3 separate regions of the Homo sapiens genome follow, and regions 1 and 2 are each linked to region 3. Evidence: promoter capture Hi-C in 16 types of primary human blood cells and fetal thymus (Javierre and others, 2016). All regions are on one chromosome and are shown on one strand. The core of a region is centred on a gene start or on the middle of the fragment in contact, and the rest is flanking DNA. Distances in the headings are between cores, read along the strand shown. Region 1 overlaps SINHCAF (SIN3-HDAC complex associated factor). Region 2 holds the start of IRAG2 (inositol 1,4,5-triphosphate receptor associated 2). Region 3 holds the start of CCDC91 (coiled-coil domain containing 91).

Region 1 (2,822 bases), core at 258-2,757, 3.1 Mb after region 3:
TTTCAGACTGGTTAAATTATGGTTGAAACACCACAGCACGCTGTTTCAACCTTTAAAGCAAGTTGAACAGTAGTAATACAGTATAATCTCACAGGATGTTTTTAAAATGAGACTGTAACTACACAAACTTCTTTTTAAATTGGTTCTTAAAAATAGTAAATAGTGGTTGCCTCTGAGGAGTACAAGCATAAAAGAAGCTTACTTTCACTTTACTACCTCCTGCTTTTTTTTTTTTAACCAAGAGCATCACTCTCCAATAACCTTGGTTATCAAGACACACCTTAAGAGTAATCTAAAAAAGCACAGAGAGCTTAAATAAACTTCCTCAAAGACATACAGATGGAGAGATACAAATTAGAAAATACACTCCATGGGAGAGACTACGAAATAGACTGGTAAGATCTAAATACACACAGAGCAGAATGGGAAGGAAACTGCAGACAGGAGACAAGCGAAAGATTTGTAAAGTGGGAAGGAAGCAGCAGTGAACAAAGACAAAAAGAACTAAGCAACCAAAGACAACTTTGAAGTGAAGGAGATGCATTTCTTTAGAGCCAAACTAGAAATCATGATGATGGGAAAGGAAAAGAAATAACACGAAAAAATACTCGCGATCACAAACTGTGGGGATACTTGAGTTCCTGTAATTGGTAATGCCACCACTGACACCATTTTAGTCAATCATATGCTATCATTAATCACATTTAAGTACAGCATCCAGTAAACACTAACAGTGTAACTGGAGCAACACTTTTCACAAACGGTCAACAGGACTAAATGCTTTGTATTCTCCCGCGGCTAGGCTATTTGGCTGCAGTATTCCCCAATAATGAGACATGTTTCATCTGCAGTTAAGGAAACCCATGGAGCAGTAAGACATTATTTCCTCTTACCTGCTTCTAGATAGCAGCCTACATCTCAGCAAAATTCCTGAATTTAGCTAACTTTAAGGGATAAATGTAAATCTGTCTAGAATAAAACTGAGAAAGGGGTAGCAGACCCCACTTGTTTGCCAACAGCCTCTTCAAACATGTGCCCTGTCTCTGAGAAATTATATGGTAAAGCATTTATAACTGTGGCTGTCTATGGAATCCACACTTGGCAGAAGAGCCTAAAACTCATCCTATATAGGAAAGAGGTCAAACTCAGAAATAAACAAGTCTTCAACTGAAATGGCATAGGTTAAAAATAAAATTACAAATTCAAGTCTCTGGGCTTTAGATAGTGTAAAACACCAGGCCCCTCCAATTTTGGTAGAGCGAAAAAAAAAAAAAGAGAAACAAAACTAGGTCTCCCAATTCTAGATTAAGAGGAATTCCAGTACATGAAAAAAAAAACTGAAAGTGTCAGAAAGAATATTTATTTGCTTTTAATGGATGATTATGAGTTAGAAAATATAACCATACTTGGGTCTGCAATGAGTCAATTTGGAGTATATTTCTGCTTCTGTCTTTACAACTAAATAGGAAGTCACTCCTAATTTTATTTGCCCTTCTGTAACATTGGGAAATTCTGTTTATTTCCTTGAATTTATAAGAGTTGCACATTACAGAAAAATAAATGCTATCTATCCCAAGATATATACAACAAATTTAACTGAAGGTAAAATTCTGATTACTAAAGATTTTCTTTTAAGCCCAGGTCTGTGGGAAAAGAGGAACTTAGCCTTTTCAGGGAGACTTTAAGGTCATGAAAAGCCCCATATACTCCTCTATGAAGCTGTTCTCCCATTTTCAAACTTGAGAAAAATGTTAAGAAAATGGATACATGATAGTATACACACCTGATTTGACCCAAACCTCAGGAAAGTTCCTTAACCTCACTAATCCTGTTTCCTCATCTATAAAATAATGACAGGCCGGGCACAGTGGCTCACGCCTGTAATCCCAGCACTATGGGAGGCAGAGGCAGGTGGATCACCTGGTCAGGAGTTCGAGACCAGTCTGGCTAACATGGTGAAACACCGTTTCTACTAAAAATACAAAAAATTAGCCCAGCCTGGTGGCGTGCGCCTGTAATCCCAGCTACTCAGGAGGCTGAGGCAGGAGAATTGCCTGAACCCAGAGGCAGAGGTTGCAGTGAGCCAAGATCGCACCACTGAACTCCAGTTTAGGCAACAAGAGCAAAGCTCAGTCTCAAAATAATAATGACAAATCCAAATCTCCTGAATAGTATCTGTAAAGCATCAACACAACATCAACACAAAGATCGGCACAAGGTATGCACTCAGCTCTGACAATTCTTTTTACTCACCAATCTTTCTTCTTTCTCTCTTTTTTTCCTCTTACATTTCAGGTATCATTTTGCTTTCTGTCTTTGGGCAATCCACTCGCAGGAAGTTACTAACCAACCTTATTGGTAATACCTATTATTCATTCCCTGGTCCAATCTCTCCCCTTAGCTCTAGGATAAATATGGCCAACTGACCACCAATCCATTCCAATCTTTAAATACCCTGAGAATTGATTATATAATCTTCCCTCCAAATCTGCTCTTCCTCTATTTACCTATCTTGGTTGTCATCCACAGTCACACAAAAACAACTTGGAAGCCAACTGAGCTCTTCCTTCACCCTCTGCATGGCCCTCCATCAAATTTATTGTGAAGTCCTTAGAAATTCTGTTTCTTCCTTCACTTCCATCCCCACTGCCTGTTTGTTCCTCATCATGGTGCATGAACTCCTGTCAGAACCTTGTAACTGACTTCCCTACATCCTTTAAACATGTGATATCTTCCTAAAGTTCAACTACTAATCTTCCCTTCCAAGGTACCAACACTGGCTTCATGATAGTATCTAAACTCCTTGGCAAGGAATTCAAAGC
Region 2 (2,867 bases), core at 241-2,740, 3.1 Mb before region 3:
CTCTACTAAAATACAAAAAATTAGCCGGGCATGGTGGTGCGTGCCTGTAGTCCCAGCTACCCGGGAGGCTGAGGCAGGGGAATCGCTTCAACCCGGGAGCCAAAGGTTGCAGTGAGCTGAGATCGCGCCAGTGCACTCCAGCCTGGAGACAGAGCGAGACTCCGTCTCAAAAAAAACAAACAAACAAACAAACAAAAAAAAACAGTTACAGAGTTTTCTCAAAATATTAAAAATTAAACTACCATCTGATCTAGGAACCCCACTTCTGGGTATTTATCCAAAATAATTAAAATCAGCACCTGGAAGAGCTATTTGCATTCCCATATTCACTGCGGCATTATTCTCAATAGCCAAGATTTGGAAACAACCTGAATGTCCACGGATGATTGGATAAAGAAAATTTGGTATATAAATACAAGGGAATATTATCCAACCTTTAAAAAGAAGGAAATTCTGCCACATATGACAACATAGATAAACCTGGAGGACACTATCCCAAGTAAAATAAGTGAGTCACAGAACAACAAATACTGCACGATCCCACTTCTCTGAGGTATCTAAAATAGTTAAACTAATAGAAAGAGAGAGAATAGTGGTTGCCAGGAGCTAGGGGAGGGGAAATGAGGAGTTGCTACTCAATAGGTATAAAGTTTCAGTTATGCAAGATGAAGATGTTCTAGAGATCTGCTGTACAACATTATGCCTGTAGTTAATAATACTGTATTGTACACTTAAAAATTTGTTAAGTGGGTAAATCTCCTGTTAAATGTTCCTGCCACAGTTAAAGAAAAAGAGAGAAAAAGAGAGTGAGAGAGACAACGATAAGCTATTGAAGGACGCTCAGTGGAAAGTGTGGTGATGTAGGCAGTTTTTATTTTTGCTTAGGATTTTGTTTGCTTGTTTACCAGTATGGTAAGCATTCTGTGAGACCATTCTTGCCTCTCATGTGGTCCTTCGTGTAACCAGGGCTGGATTTGTGCCAGTGTGCAGTGGCATTCTGACTAAATGTTAACGTTTGAGAGGCATGCACAAGGCCTACGGCTGACAATGTCTTCCTTGCTGTTTTGCAACTCCCGACATTTATCACCACTTTGAGTTAAGGTCCATATTCAAGTCAGATTGTTTCCAGATAATCATTGAGGTACTGGCATGTAACACACATTAAATAATCTCATCTGCTAACAGAGAGTAAGTGCATTTTTACATGTTTTAGAGATTAGAATTGGATCCAAATGAGGTGTAACGTAATGGCACCATGAGATCTGTGGTGGGGAAGGGTGATGGGGAGAAAAGCTTCAGCAAAAAGAGGACTAAAGTAGAAATATCAACCGCCAGCTTTCATCTGTGCCTGGGGGCGGTCCTTCCTGTGCTCGTGGCACGTGTTTATACTATGATTGACAACCCTTAAGGAGAAAGGCTAAGGTCATGAAACAAAGCTCTCTTTCCTTTTCTTTTCCCTCCCCCTACCTTTACCCCATTCCTTTCTTTTTCTGTAAAAGCTAGCTGTGATGTGTAAATGTTGCACCTGTCACCCTGACCTCATTGTAGAGCCATCTTCTGAGTAACTGGCAACTGGCAACTGATGCTAAGTGCTATGAATGCAGCTGGTGGGAACTGAACACACCAGTGTAAAAGATGAAACTAGAAGTCCTTATCTGTAAAGTGAGGGTGTCAGGCTAAGCGACCAATAAGCTTTGCTTAAGATTTTATATTTGTGAAGCATTTATATGTAAATACTTTCACTTTTTCCTCTGATCTCTAAGGAAGTGGTGTTAAGTTTGAGTTTGTCATAATTTCACAGGGTGACTCTTAGTTGAAATGTCACTGACAGCTTGCGGTTTGGACTTTTTTTTTTTTTTTTTTTTTTAACTCCAGTCAGAAACAACTAGAAGCCATTAAACAACTACAGGAAGATGCTGTCAACCAGGAAGGCATCCTTAGGAAGAGGCTCCAAGAAACCAGCCAACGGCTGGAGGATGTGGAGGAGCAGGTAGGGTGGCTCATGGCTACATTAGATTCAGGGGACATCTCCTCAGATGCCCTGCAAACCATGAAATAAAAATGGAGGAGGAACAACAACAACAAACAAAAAAAAAAAGCAAAGAGGAACTGCAAGTTCAGTCCCTAGCGACTAACAGTGAGCAGAGGAAGTAAAGGGGGAGTTGTAAGAGAGGCGGTATCAACAGCCTGCTGATGAAAGAGGCGACTCTGCAGAAAGAGGCAACTTGACATATCAGGACTTTAACCGCTGTAGAAATAGCTCAGGCATACCAAGCCCATGCAAACACAGAATTGCAGAAGTTCAGGAGAGGCTTATCACTTCCCTGAGAAGAAAAACACATTTTCAGTTTTGCCTGCATCATAAGAGTGAGCACTCCATTGCTTTCTTTCCTGGCCACACTGCTACAATCCAGCACTAACTATCCATGTCCAGGGTAAGGATCGAGATCGAGAAGCCCACACTGCCAGTGAAAAAGCTACGTCTTTACTGCATAAATTAGAGGAAGCAATTTCGGAACAACGGAACCTTCAAACTATAAATACTGAATTATCGAACACTTGCCAGGCACTTCAGCAGAAGACAAGGAAACTGAAGAGTGAGTAGCAAATATTCATTTATGACCCAGTTTTTGTCCACCCTCAGGCGGGGCATAGGACTACAGACATTTTTCTAGATTACAGCTAGGATATTATTCCTGAGTTTATGACAATGAAATGGTTTGAGAAGGCAATATTGTGGGGCTTTCAGAGAGGTTTGCTGAGTGGCTAGGTGCATGCATGGGTTTAACCATTAACTTCCCTTTTTGCCTTTTTATTATAAGCTGGTTTTGTCTGTGGCTGTTTTTTTCTTTTAAAATTAATTAAAA
Region 3 (2,700 bases), core at 84-2,583:
AGAAGTGGTCCTTGACTTGGTAGTCTAGTAGACAGATAAAAAAATATGTGTAAGAAAGCATTACATTTCTTACAATAGAAATGTTTTTTGTATGCATAAAGAAGGGGGTGGGCTGGAAAAAGAATGTAGTCAAGGTGACTTGCTCAATACTGAAACTGCTCATTAACTACTTAGGCCAGCACTTATGGCAGACTTGTCAGGATGCCTTGCTAATATTTTCCACTTCCAGTACAGAACAGAGATTACAGGTTTAAGCCAATTTTGTTCAACAGATGAGAAACCCAGTGTCCAAGGATGAAAGAATACTTGTTATACAAGGAATGTGAATATTCCAGAGATTTATGCTCAAAGTCCCCAGGTTAGTGTCTTTCTTTCTCACTAGACTGTAAGCTTCTTGAAGACAAATATCTTGAGTGTTACCTTGCTCACTCTTGAATTGTCAAAACTTGGCCCAGGACTAGGTATGTGGTATACAATCAATAAAAATTTGTTGAATGAATGTTCTTCAAAATCCTTCCATGGCAAAAACAGAAGAAACATTCACGAGTGGACTGCTAGTTGACTGTTTCTCTCATCGCTATTGACAGTCTGAAATGGACAAAGACATCTATATAATCATTCCTTCCTTTCAAATAAATAATCTGTGAATTACGCTATTCTTTTCCTATTGCTTCAGGACAAGCTATTTGACAGAAAGCTTTTAAGAAAGGCTTTGCAAGAAAACTCTGCAACAGAGATGGCACGTATGAATTGCTGTGATCTGGAGTTGAAGACAAGAACAAAAGTAACTCTAGAGCAGAATTCTTTGACCAAAGTCATCTTACTGGTTGGCGGAGGCTCTCAGTCTACTTGCATCCGGTGCTTGAGAGTTCAGACAGGCAAAGATGAGAGGTAGCATCTAGTCAACATCCATTTCTTGAGCACTTACTACATGTCAGCCACTTTGCTTAGTCCCCGGTTTTACTGTGCTCTGCTAGGAAGTGGTGAAGAGATTCGGCGGGATCTTCTTAGGACCAATCCTACAAAGTTCCAGATGGAACTCATTTTGATTTGGGGGACGGTTTACTTGCAGGGATTAGGTGGAGAAACAGGGCCTGCTACTCAAGAGGAATGAGAAACTGTAACTAACAGGAGGTAGACTGGGAAGGAGCATGGCAAAGTCACCCCTTTTCACAGGGCAACGCTCCAAAGACCACGCTCAAGCTGGGGTGGCAGGGCTCTGAACATGGGGCCCCGACCCGGGCCTCGGCCTGGGGCCACGTGACGCGCGTGTTTACGTTGAGTGACGGGCGCTGTGTTGGGCGGGCCTTGGCGGAAATCAACTTCCGGGGGCAGAGGTGTTCGAAGCCGGGTGGTGCGTGGGCTACCCCAACCTGTGTGGCTGGGCCGCGGTCTCCCCTCAAGGGCCTGGGGCCGTGCCTCGGGTGTACGCGTAGGGGTCTGTGTGCTGGGGGTGGCTCACCGGGCAGCGTGGGTGAGCGGCGCAGCGGCGGCAGCGGAGAGCGAGAGAGGGGAGCAGGTAAGTGAACGCTCGCCTTCCGGGGCCTGGGTCTTGGGGTCGGGGCCGCGCGAGGCGAGCGGAGAGCGCCCCACCGGGGGAGGAGCGCGGACGAGCTTCCGCCGCCTGCAGCCCGCCTGCTGCGGCCTCGCCCTTGGCTGTCGCAGCGACCAGGAGTCAGGGGGCGTGACCAACCTCCTGCGGGAACGGAGCCAGCTCCCGGGGGTGGGAGTGCCCACTCGTTCCTGCGCTCGCCGGTGGGTACCGGTATCTGCACGTCCCAGAATCGAGTGTTTTCGAAAGTCTACGCCCACGAACACGTGATTATTGTGTCACCGAAGCGCCTACCGAACGGAGACCTTGATTCTTGCTTAGATTACACAGAACGCGCCTGGTTTATGTATCCCCTTTTACTTTGCCAAGTACATTGGGGTAAAAGCTCTACAGCGTCTGCCAGCCACATTTCCTTAGAGTTTCTTGGGCCACATGTTGCAATAAAAGTGGCATTTCAGGGTCAAGGCAGGAGCCAGTAACTTTGCCAAGTGGTGAGGTATCCTTCGTCCCCGTTAGCACGCCTCCCTTTCCCAACAATAAAGATATTTTCTCCATCTGCGCGTGTCGCCTACTGCGGAGGAAAGCTTTGGACATGAAACCTATTTTTGGCTTCACTTTAAGGAGTGGAACTCTATTAAAAGCTGCGCTGGTGTTTTTTTGGTAGGATGATGTTGCTGCTGCTACTCTCACTTGCTTCCTTGATGAGAGTTGGGGCAGAGCTCGATTTCCTGGAGGGTAAAGTCTTGGCCACAATTTTAGGTGACTCAGCGGCCCCTTATGAATTCTGACTCTTTCCTTCCCTCCCCTCTCAGCTGTGCGGATACTGATGCCACCTTTCTCTCCAAATATTAATCCGGGTGGGAGTTGGATGATGGTTTTTGGAAGCAGTTTGCATGTTGCGTGGTGGAGTTATTGGAGTGGGCTGACATTTTACTTCACAATTTAAGGCAACCCTTCCCCCCCCCACAATATTTAGTTGGGTGGGGTGACAGGGACTGACAACAAATTCGCTGTTGTGTTCCCTGCTGTCGGAGAGTTCTACACTTAATGATCACCTGATTGCCCTCTGCTACAATTTCTATTGCGTTGAGGGGATTGGTTATACTGTCTGTACCTATTAGGTAAATGTAGTAAGGGTCATGCCAGGC

The links. The method cuts DNA at HindIII sites, captures the fragments that hold promoters and counts their contacts. A CHiCAGO score of 5 or more calls a contact.
Region 1: a fragment that was not itself captured here is called in contact with the fragment with the promoter of CCDC91 in region 3 in 2 of 17 cell types (fetal thymus and naive CD4 T cells); the score reaches 5.1 in fetal thymus.
Region 2: a fragment that was not itself captured here is called in contact with the fragment with the promoter of CCDC91 in region 3 in 3 of 17 cell types (naive CD8 T cells, total CD4 T cells and fetal thymus); the score reaches 7.6 in naive CD8 T cells.

Annotation. Positions count from the first base shown.
Region 1 is chr12:31,317,391-31,320,212 of GRCh38, forward strand. All of the region lies in intron 1 of SINHCAF (SIN3-HDAC complex associated factor), which reads right to left. Among named protein-coding and RNA genes, the nearest start is that of FLJ13224, 5.5 kb to the right of the region's middle. The HindIII fragment of the contact is 2,624 bases long and covers 196-2,819 here.
Region 2 is chr12:25,050,360-25,053,226 of GRCh38, forward strand. It overlaps IRAG2 (inositol 1,4,5-triphosphate receptor associated 2), which reads left to right and starts at 2,347. Exons shown (of 22, transcript NM_001366544.2): 1 at 2,347-2,597. RefSeq lists enhancers at 1,702-1,811, 1,852-2,221. The HindIII fragment of the contact is 399 bases long and covers 1,292-1,690 here.
Region 3 is chr12:28,189,123-28,191,822 of GRCh38, forward strand. It overlaps CCDC91 (coiled-coil domain containing 91), which reads left to right and starts at 1,334. Exons shown (of 13, transcript NM_018318.5): 1 at 1,334-1,519. It overlaps LOC729291 (a long non-coding RNA gene), which reads right to left and starts at 1,616. Exons shown (of 1, transcript NR_148936.1): 1 at 1-1,616. RefSeq lists silencers at 1,301-1,350, 1,381-1,810, 2,494-2,700. The HindIII fragment of the contact is 1,439 bases long and covers 696-2,134 here.